Regions from separate parts of the Homo sapiens genome. Here region 1 is linked to region 2. Evidence: promoter capture Hi-C in 16 types of primary human blood cells and fetal thymus (Javierre and others, 2016). All regions are on one chromosome and are shown on one strand. The core of a region is centred on a gene start or on the middle of the fragment in contact, and the rest is flanking DNA. Distances in the headings are between cores, read along the strand shown.

The links. The method cuts DNA at HindIII sites, captures the fragments that hold promoters and counts their contacts. A CHiCAGO score of 5 or more calls a contact.
Region 1: the fragment with the promoter of TBK1 here is called in contact with a fragment that was not itself captured in region 2 in 1 of 17 cell types (total CD4 T cells); the score reaches 8.2 in total CD4 T cells.

The regions. Positions count from the first base shown.
Region 1 is chr12:64,449,325-64,455,064 of GRCh38, reverse strand. It overlaps TBK1 (TANK binding kinase 1), which reads right to left and starts at 2,945. Exons shown (of 21, transcript NM_013254.4): 1 at 2,878-2,945. XPOT (exportin for tRNA) reads right to left here. Exons shown (of 25, transcript NM_007235.6): 25 at 3,940-5,740. RefSeq lists a silencer at 2,605-3,074. The HindIII fragment of the contact is 9,573 bases long and covers 1-4,407 here.
Region 2 is chr12:69,585,547-69,591,044 of GRCh38, reverse strand. CCT2 (chaperonin containing TCP1 subunit 2) reads right to left here. Exons shown (of 16, transcript NM_006431.3): 2 at 4,701-4,775; 3 at 4,227-4,292; 4 at 3,429-3,540; 5 at 3,039-3,115; 6 at 2,783-2,895; 7 at 1,358-1,560. Among named protein-coding and RNA genes, the nearest start is that of CCT2, 2.8 kb to the right of the region's middle. RefSeq lists an enhancer at 5,216-5,498. The HindIII fragment of the contact is 1,624 bases long and covers 3,289-4,912 here.

The sequences.
Region 1 (5,740 bases), core at 1,696-4,195, 5.1 Mb after region 2:
AGTGAGCTGAAATCGTGCCACCCTATTCCAGCCTGGGTGACAGAGCAAGACTCCATCGCAAAAAAAAAAAAAAGAAAAAAAAAAAATTGGCCGGGCGCGGTGGCTCACGCCTGTAATCCCAGCACTTTGGGAGGCCGAGGCGGGCGGATCACGAGGTCAGGAGATTGAGACCATCCTGGATAACATGGTGAAACCCCGTCTCTACTAAAAATACAAAAAAATTAGCCGGGCATGGTGGCGGGCGCCTGTAGACCCAGCTACTCGGGAGGCTGACGCAGGAGAATGGCGGGAACCCGGGAGGCGGAGCTTGCAGTGAGCCGAGATCGCGCCACTGCACTCCAGGCTGGGTGACACAGCGAGACTCCGTCTCAAAAAAAAAAAAAAAAAAAAAAGATCTGAGTTTCTAGCAATATTCAAGGCTAAAATGCTGTATGAGCTTTGAAAAAAAAAACATTAACCAATGACATACATTCAATTTAATTCACTTAACACAGGGCTGAAAGAAACATCTATTTCTCAGCCGGGTGCAGTGGCCCATGCCTGTAATCCCAGCACTCTGGGAGGCCGAGGCGGGCGGATCACAAGGTCAGGAGTTCGAGACCAGCCTGGCCAATATGGAGAAACCCCGCCTCTACTAAAAATACAAAAAAATTAGCCAGGCGTGGTGGCGCATGCCTGTAATCCCAGCTACTCGGGAGGCTGAGGCAGAAGAATTGCTTGAAACCAGGAGGCAGAGGTTGCAGTGAGCTGAGATCGCACCACTGCACTCCAGCCAGGGTGACAGAGCGAGACTCCATCTCAAAAAGAAACAAAAACAAACAAAAACAACACCTATTTCTCTTCTAATTTTGTCTTTGTTGATGAGAGTGATATTGTTACTTACCTCCTTCAAATGTTTTGAAAGATTAATTTATGACATAATTTAAGGTGTTTTAAAATAAAGAAAAGTAATAATGTAAAATATAACAAATATAGGAAAAATTACTTTGTTTCCTTCAGAGCAGAGAAACACTAATGAAGACAAATGTTGTCACTGCATAATATTCCCATAAGCTAAAATTTTATCTACACAATCTACACAGAACCTGACAAACATAAAGGAAAGGTGCAAAAATTATTATTCCTGAAAAGTTACGAACTCTTCTGGAATTAATTTAAGGATAGTTTCTCCAACCTCCAAGTATAAATATATAAACGTACCAAGTAGCCTGTATTATCAAGTCTTTAATACTGAAAAGCTATGGATCTATCAAGGTATACAAAGTATCCAAGCTCCACACTGGACTAAAATTGATGTATGCTAACATAACATAAACACTAGTCCCACCATGCCCCCTTAAACCTGCTGTATTGTCATTAAAACATGGATTTTAATATCCCTCCACAGTAAGTTAAAGCAAAAAGTAGTATGCTAGACTAGGTATTCTGTGATGAATTAATGACCACCAATATCCCCAAGCTGGGTTAGGAAAATGCAGAATGGTCAGGGGTCTCAATTTTACCAATCACTGATATAGTAGGATATTTTTATATAATTTTACTACCCATCTAATTTAGATAAACTTTATATACGACTATAGGAAATAAGCAATAAAAATAAGATTCCCTTTTCACAAATAAGGAATACACATTTGCCAGTCATTACATTTCACTCACGATACAATAACAAACGTCTCAACTATCTAACGAAAAACCTTCCCTAATCAATGTAACTGTAAATGGCAAATAGTACCATTAGGTACCTATATGTATGTACCTTCAGGATAATAAGAAAAATATTTATCAGCTAAGATATCTGTTCTCTATGCAAATACAAAACTATGGTTTCTATTTAACAGTAATCACAATAGTGGTCAGGGGAAATGTCTTTTGAAATTATCTTCCAATAACTCCACAATAACATGTTAAAACATGACTCAGCACACCCACAACGTGCTTGCCATATAAATCTTCCCAAATTTTTGACAAGCATATAAGCAGACACTCAACAACTATGTTGCTGATGATGCCGTCTTCAGCCTACTTCCTTACACCGTCCAAAACGAAAGTTACTATTTGTTGAGGGATGAAAACAGGTTTGACGACATGGCCTATGGACAAAGTTCCAGGATTTCTAAACTCTGCCCCTATGTGATTCATACACTGGGGTTTCAGAGTGGAAAAGACCAGTCTTTGGTTATACATTTGGCAATTACTTGGGAGTTGTTTTGAGGCCACCTACTAAGAATACTTGGGATAGAGATTACAAATTAAACCCATAAGCCAGGTAGACGAGGAGCAAGGAAATGTCTGGGAATTCGTATTTCATCGGCATATATTTAAAACATCTTATGCTTCTAATTTCCGGTGTGAGTCAACCTCTGCGGACTGAACATCACTAAAACTCTAAGGAAACGTCTCTTTTTAATCCTCTGAAAAATCAATACATTTAAAAACTGCCCGTTGTGTCGACGCTCGGAAAGAGGGTAGAAAACAGCGAGTCTAAGGGAAAGAGGTGCCCCTGCCTCCCCAGGCAGCCAGGGCCCAGGCCCGGTAACGGAGTCGTCCTCTTTATGCCCAAAGCCGCCGGACGGGATGCAGGTCGAGGACCGGCCGCGCGGCGCGGAGCGGGGATGCAGGTAACAGGGCCCGCGCGACCATTCCACCGGCTACGGCCACCCGACACACACCCCAGAGGCAGTGTCCACGCAGCCGGGGTCCTGGATGGCTTGGCCTCGGGTCGTCCGGGGCTTCTCGGTGCGCCCGCCCCCGCCCCCGCTCTGACTCAGCATCCCAGCCTCCCACAGGGGGCGGGAGCGCTCCCCGCCGGGCGGCGCAGGCCTGACCGACCGCGCCCCGCGCCGCCTTGGCCCCTCAGCCCGCGGCCGTCTCACTTACCCAGCCGGGTCTCCGCCGCGCCACCGCCGGCGGGCTCCCGCGGCCTCCTCGAGACTCAGGACACTTCCGGCTTCGCAAGCCCTGGCCGGAGGCCACGTGACCGACGGCCGGCGCGCCGGTGCGGGTGCGCGTGCGCACGCCTATGGCCCGTCTGGTAGTCACCACAGCCGCGGCGGCAACTGCCGAGTCGGCTTCCGCGGCCACGGTAATGAGGGGGATGTCTGGAGACACCCCGTCCACTGTTGCCCTCGCCCTTTACTCTAAAGGGGAATGAGGAGCCCTGAGCAGCGAACACAGTAATTGGGATTCCCGCAACTGCAAATCCCGCCCCTTCCCCGAGCGCTGGCCGACAGTAGGGCGGACCGACGCTGAGCAAGGGATTACATCCCAAGATTTACAGGTGTGCAGAACGTGGGACACGTGGGGGGCAGGCACAGACGGCCGGCAGAGCTGGGAGGGATGGATTCTATGTTTTAAGGGCCCACTTTGGCTGCAGTGGAGCCAGATTATCGTCTCGCAGTAATTCAGACTTTACATTGTTTTTTTCATTTTCCCATCACCCAGAAATACATTAAATTCTTAATGTAAAAATGTTCATTTAATTCCCTCTCGGTATTTTGGAAAACGGCCGTATTGGAGTATCTAACTCTAAACTTAAGAATTTAAGAACTAAAACTTAAATACTAAAATTAGGTCCTGCAATATTCGTGCAGTCAAAATCTCAAGCCGCTATTCCCAATAAGGAATAGCTTTCTGAAGGGGTCCCTTCTGCCCACGGACAGCACAACAGGCCTTTCTCAACATGAGGGAGCAGAGACCGCTGCTAATCTAGGGCTAAATTTCTGAGTGGAGGGGAAGAGGAAGATGGTGTTTCCCAGAGTAGCAGCAGCAAACACGAATGAATGGGAAGTCATGCGGAGTGGCTCAGAGGCTTTTGAATGTAACAGACCTAGGGTTGCTGTCTCGGCTGCCAATTACTGACTTAAAAGCTAATCTCTTACCTCTCTAAGCCTCAGTTTTATCAAATGCACAATGGAGATAACAAAAGTCCACTCTAATGAATTCTTACAAAGCAAGTTACTTTATTAGCATTTTAAACAATGTATAAGTGATGGAATCATTCTAACAACACATCTATTCACTGCTTACAATTCCAACTAATTTCAGTTCTTTGATATCTAATGACAAGAGCGAAGACCTGTTAAAGTTCCTTCCACCAGTAAAACTCACAGCTCAAAGTTGTGGGAGTGATTAACTGAGCCACAGGCCTTCATTCACATGTTTACCACATTAAAATACCACACAGTGTTTTCTTATAAGGTCAACCAACTGGGAAGCAATTAACATTAGCATTAAGATTTAAACTGTTAGGCACAGGGCTAAATCAGGCATTATATGAAAACTTGTGGTTCCCTAGTCAAGTCAAACAAATCCCCAAATATTTCAGCTTGTAACAGTTTTGTCCTTCCTCTCTTGAGACAATTATTTGAGTACTTGCTTTTGGAAATAAGGTAATTCATGATGGAAGCTTCCTAGCTGTGATGGTGCTCTAGGCAACTTCAGAGAATGAAGATAGAAGTTATGCATGATTATATAACATGAAGAGTTTAATTTTTATTACACACTCAATTTCCATGCCCTGATTTCTCTTAGCTCTATAAACACATGTAAATCTTCTGCAGAGCTTTAAAGAGCTCTGAAAGGGAAAACACCTTTCCATATATGGAATTGATAGCATAGTAAGGCCGTGTGCAGTGGCTTATACCTGTAATCCCAACATTGTGAGGCCAGTGGGAGGATTGCTTGAGGCCGGGAGTTTGAGACCAGACTGGGTAACATAGTGAGACCCTGTCTCTACCAAAAAAAAATGTAGCTGGGTGTGGTGGTGCACACCTGTAATCACAGCTAGTCTGGATGCTGAGGCAGGAGGATTGGTAGAGTATGGGAGAAGTTACAGTGAGCTATGATGTCACCACTGCACTCCAGCCTGGGTGATAGACTGATCTCTATTCAAAAAAAAAAAAGAAAAAAAAAGTATAGTGATACACTATTAATTCCATATATGCTAATATGAGATAGCATCCATATAAACTACTATCAAGTCTTTATGTGCCAGCTACTGTAATAAGTCTTTTCAAGTTTAACTCATTGAATTCGTAATGAGGTTTGAGGTAGCTACCATTATTTCCATTTTACAAATAGGGAAACTGAGGCTGGGAGACATTCTTTAACTTGCCCAAGGTTCTAAAACCAGTTACTGGCAGAACTGGTATTTGAACCTACTTAATCTGATTCTAGAGCCTGTGCTATATAAACTCTTACCCACTATGCTATGCTATTCATTAGTATCCATTTAACAATTACTACTATTGCAATAGCTGCAATTATCACTCCTATAGTACAGGGGAACCTATCAAAGAAACACTCAGCTTTCACTTATCTATTTCTGAAAACATTTTTTATTAAAGTATAAGGTACATTTCACTGATTTATTTTTATAACTGTCAATTTAGTTAAGTATTTTTATTATATGGTGTAAGAAAAATGTTTGAAATGTCTTCTGGAATTAACCGGAACAAAATAAATGTACAAAATTTAGAATAGAATTTTACAGAGTTTATAAGCCACTGAAGCCCATTCATGAAACCCATTCATGAGGCCAAAGGGCAAAACAAACCCTCCCTGAACATCTCAATTGGGCTTTTAGAATTTAAACGTAAATGTCTATACGAATTCTGCTGCTCAGTTTTGTCCCTCCTCTCTTCTTTCCAGTGACACTACTGATAACTATTATTTTTTCCTTTTGCTTTCTCAAGTAGCCATGAATAAAAATGGAGGAAGGCAGGGGTAAGTACTTCTAATA
Region 2 (5,498 bases), core at 2,851-5,350:
AGCCCCTATCAGAAATGCTACGCAGCGGCCAGGCATGGTGGCTCACGCCTGTAATCCCAGTACTTTGGGAGGCTGAGGCAGGTGGATCCCCTTAGGTCAGGAGTTCGAGACCAGCCTGGTCAACATGGCGATACCCCGTCTCTACTAAAAATACAAAAAAGTTAGCCAGGCATGGTGGCACACGCCTGTAATCCCACCTACTCAGGAGGCTGAGGCAGGAGAATCGCCTTAACTCAGGAGGCAGTGGTTGCAGTGAGGCGAGATCATACTGCTGCACTCCAGCCTGGGTGACACAGCCAGACTCCGTCTCAAAAAAAAAAAAAAAGAAATGCTACACAGCTCTTGTATATAAACTTAATCAAGAGTATTTTCAGAATTATGACTCTCTCTTAAAATAAATCAAGACCTATGACACAGAACAAAACCAGGACTCCAAACCACTGGTAAAAACAGAAGTTGTAAAGCACCATCTAATTCTTTTTTTTTCCTTCTCTATATAAGAATGCCTATACTTTTTGACAGGCCATTTTGTGAAGTAAATATAATGTGAAGATGATCTGGAAAACTTCACTCTAAACAAAAATGTACTACTAAGAAAGCAGTACTTATTATGTCTCATTTATCACTCTTTAAGAACTAGATCCTCTTGCCCTATAAACATACATAATTATTTGTTAAAGAAATTTTTTTTAATTCTTTTCTAAAAAAAACTAGTCATCCCCCAGTATACGAAGGGGACTGGTTCCAAGACGCCCACATACACCAAAATCCCCACATACTTAAGTTCCAGGCTGACTGGAACCAGCAGATTTGAAAAGCTGGCCCACTATATACATGGGTTTCAAATCCTGCAAATACTGCATTTTCCATCCACGTTCGGTTGCACATGTGCAAACCACGGACACAAAGGGCTGACTATATTTATTGAAAAAACCTGCATTGTGAACCTACATAATTCAAACCCATGTTGTTCAATGGTCAACTGTACATCCTCAACAACCAGCTAACACAATGATTTGACTGACCCAGACCCTTCCTGGAGAATACATATAATCCTGGTAAAAGTACCATTTGAGAATAGATGATTTCTAGTAAAAGAAAACATTTCCTCTTTATCAGAGACTGCAAATAACTTCATGGTAGTTAAGTAAACTCTAGAGATCATCAACAATGCTGGAATAGCGCGGGAAGAGGAGTACACTGTCAATAAAATGACAAAAATGGTTGCACATATGATATGTCCTTAAATTCAAGTTCACTGGCTTTGTAAAGGGTCACTGGTCTCAAAACAGAATTCACTCAGTATTCAGCCCTCAGCATCTAATCAAAGCTTCTTGTATCTGACATTCATACATACCTTCATCTAAATAGGAATCTGCCAAACTTCCTCCTAGCTTCTTGATAATATGAATTGCCTCCAGGTTGCCAGAGCCTTTCAGTCTGAGAACTGCTTCTACAGCTAACTTTGTAAAGTGGTCTTTGTGATGAGTAAGAAGTTTTGAGGATAATGTTGTGCCCGCAATATTCATTAAATCTTGACGGAATTTAACTTCATCGGAACTAAATAAAACCAACCAAATATACATATTAACCCTACTTTACTTTTCAAAATTTATCTAGATATTCATGTCAATAGATAATTTTACCCTAACTGATCAAGTCTGTAAGCTATATGAAAAGAATTAAACCTCAGCAGTAATCAAGAAACACAAATTAAAGATGTTATTTTCCCCACCAAACTGGCAAAATGCCAAAAAAAAAAGAGGGGTGGGGGCCACACAAGCATGCAAAAGTCTAATGTTGGCAAGAATGTGAGAAATGGCCGGGCACAGTGGCTCACGCCTGTAATCCTAGCACTTTGGGAGACTGAGGAGGATGGATCACTTGAGGTCAGTTCAAGACCAGCCTGAGCAACATGGTGAAACCCCATCTACACTAAAAATACAAAATTAGCTGGCTATGATGGCACATGCCTGTAGTCCCTGCTACTTGGGAGGCTGAGGCAAGAGAATCGCTTGAACCCGGGAGGCAGAGGTTGCAGTCAGCCGAAGTCGTGCCACTGCACTCCATTCTGGGCAACTCTAAGAGCGAGACTCCGTCTCAAAATAAATAAATAAATAAAAGGACGTGAAAAACAAGTATTATTATACAGTTGTGAATGGGCAAATAAATAGAAGTGCCTTAAAACAGTGGTCCCGGACCTTTTTGGCACCAGGGACTGGTTTCATGGGAAGACAATTTTTCCACCTGCTGCTCACCTGCTGTGCAGCCCAGGTTTGGGGGTGCCTTAAAACACACACACTTACCTTTGGACCCAACAATTACACTTCTAGAAACCTTTGGGCTATGTCGCAACGTCACAAAGTTATTTTATAATGCTAAAAATCATCAAATACACAAATCTCCCCCTACAGATAGGTTAATACAGTCATTCTAGCCAAATATTCAAATGTGTAACTCTATTAAAATACTGCACAGAAAATTGACATCCAAAAATGTGCTTAATATTTAACTAGGTTAAAAAGAGGCTAACAAATTCTCTATACAGTATTATACTATTTGCTTTATTTGTATATTTTGATGATATATACAAAAAGACTAAAAACCCAAACTTAACTTTAGTGGCTATCTCTGGAGGCTGATGTAGGTTTGACTGTTGGAGTGGGGTGAGGCAGCAAGATGATCTTTGTGTATGCTTTTCAGTGTCCTATAGATTTCTTGCATTAAGCATGTTATGAAAGAACACTAAATGTTTAGAACAGTAGTACTTTGCTATACAAACCCATGATCAACTGCAGAACTCAACAGCGCCTCTCTTGCAGCCTTCGTGGCTTCTCTCCAACCCGCTATGATGGTCTGTGGATGAATCTTTTTTGCAATTAAAGATTCTGCTTCCTATTAATAAAGTTATAAAACAAAAGTTATAAATAGAAAATTATTAAGCACTCCTCAATAGTAAAGACAGAGGAAGTAAGGACTAGATTACCTCTGATACTCAAAAACACAGTAGGAAAAAAGAGTTGCTTAGTTGCTCTTACCCTTAATAATTCTGCTGCTAAAACGGTAACAGAGGTAGTGCCATCACCAACTTCATCATCTTGAACCCTTGACATATCTAGAAAAAGAAATTAGTTATTAACTCAAAATTGCTTCTTTGCTTACTAAATTCTCCAAAAATATTCACTACCAATCTAAACTTACCAGGGTTCCTCATTCAACAAATTATTTGGAACTCTGAGGTCTGAAATGCAACAGTTTTACCACCAACATACGGGCACTCCTGAAGCTTGTATTTTAACAACGATAATTAACAACTAGTGGACATCAATTGACAGTACGATTGGTCAACACAGCCTATTTATAAAGTTATTTCAAAAATGTTAACAAACAGTATTATTAGGTTGGTGAAAAAGTATATTCAGACTTACCAACTAAAACTTTAGCTGCTGGATTGTCAACACCAATGTTTTTTAGAATAGTGGCACCATCATTGGTTACCATAAGAGAGGCATCTCGTCCACTGCTTAGAAGAATTTTGTCCTAAAGGGAACATAATTGGTTCAAGTTAAGACATAAGCACATCTTGAAGAATGCATGGATCAATCAGTATTCTCACACAGTGCTAGTGTATAAACACTCTGGATAGCTATTTTGTGGTATCCATTCATCAAATGTTTTCAATACATACACCACGTAACCAAACCATGTATCTACCCCTAGAAACACTAGAAGCACAGGTAGACACTAGTTTTTGTTTCAACACCGTAACTGCAAAAACAATGGAAAGAAACTATCAATACAGCCATAATTAAATTATAAAATAATTAAGGTACAGGATAATATTTGACAGTTAAAGGGGCAGTGTTATCTACTTACACTGAAAGGAATTTAAAAGAGCAAGCTACAAAAAAGTATTGATAAATAGTATCTGTTTTATAAAACAGTATGTTACATGAGTATAAAATACATAATGAAGTACACATACTTCTACATAAACAGAATATTAGAAGATGTACGTGCAAATGATAACAGTACTTGTCATTGGGGAGGGGCATGGGATTGGGGATGGTGATTCTGGGGACTCTGATTTTTACTAAGGAGAACATACTTGTCTTTTATAATTAAACGTTTTAAAGATTAAAAAGCATTTTAATACGCTTGTTATTATATTTCCACCAAGCGCTCTAAAACAATATTAAAATATAAAACTTTTCTATTTTTCTTACCATGCCTTTGGGTCCCAAGGTGCTCTTTACCAAGTCTCCAATGGCGATGGCACCAATAAAAGAAGTCTGGAGTAAAAACCAAGGAGATTATCAGAATCAACTTTACAGTCTTCAAGTACAGTTTTATCTTTATTTACTTTTTTTTTTTTTTGAGGCAGAGTGTCGCTCTGTCGCCCAGGCTGGAGTGCAATGGCGCGATCTCAGCTCACTGCAACCTCCGCCTCCTGGGTTCAAGCGATCCTCCTGCCTCAGCCTCCCGAGTAGCTGGGATTACAGGTGCCCATCACCACGCCCGGCTAATTTTTGTATTTCTAGTAGAAACGGGGTTTTACCATGTTGGCCAGGCTGGTCTCGAACTCCTGACCTCAGTTCATCCGCCTACCTCGGCCTCCCAAAGTACTGGGATTACAGGAGTAAGCCACCGCGCCTGGCCTCCAGTTTTATCTTTAAAACAATGCTTAGAACAAGGCTTACCAGACGAGCTGTCTCTGCTCTCTCTTCATCAGCTCCTGCCTTAAAGATGTTAACAGGTGCAAGGGAAAGGGACGCCTGAAAAGGAAAACCAAGAGGCATTCCGTTTAAGTACCAATACTCTAACACATACACTGAGGTGCCTTCCACTAGTCTTACAAGTGGACATCTAAGAGAAAACTCATTTACAACAATGTTTTCAATCAAATGAAGCTTCCATCATCGGAGAAAGCATTTAAGTGGGAGAGAGGGACTTGTAGGAGAGCGACATGGCTTTTCGGATTTACAAGGCCCCCGGGAGTATAAATTATACACCAGCGAGATTGACAGTTACGTACAGCGAGACTAAAGACGATCTTGAACTAAGAATGAGGCAGGGAGGGGTTGCAGGCCATCAAGGTGACGCCTGCCGGGCGGGCGAGGGAACGCGGCCTCCATCTTCCACCCTCGGAAGGCTGCGGCCCCTCCACCCTCTGATGGCTCAGACCCCGTCGCTCCAGGCTCCGCCCCTAGAAGGAGGGCGGAGCGGGTCCCACACTAGAAATTTCTTCGCTCCGGGTGAGGCGCGGACCTGGGCTGCCGGGACTATGCAAAGACCTAGGCACAAGGAGACGCTGGCTTTGCGGTCCACCCCTCCCCCTCGTGGTGAGCTCCACCGGCTGGCCTGGCGCAGGCCGCACGCCCCGCGCATGGCTCGCACCATGTGCGGAGGGCCGGGGAGACAGAAACGGAGCCTACGACCCTAGCAGGACAGAGGAAGCAGTGGGGTGGCAAGAGCACGGCGGAGCAGGGGTAGGGCAA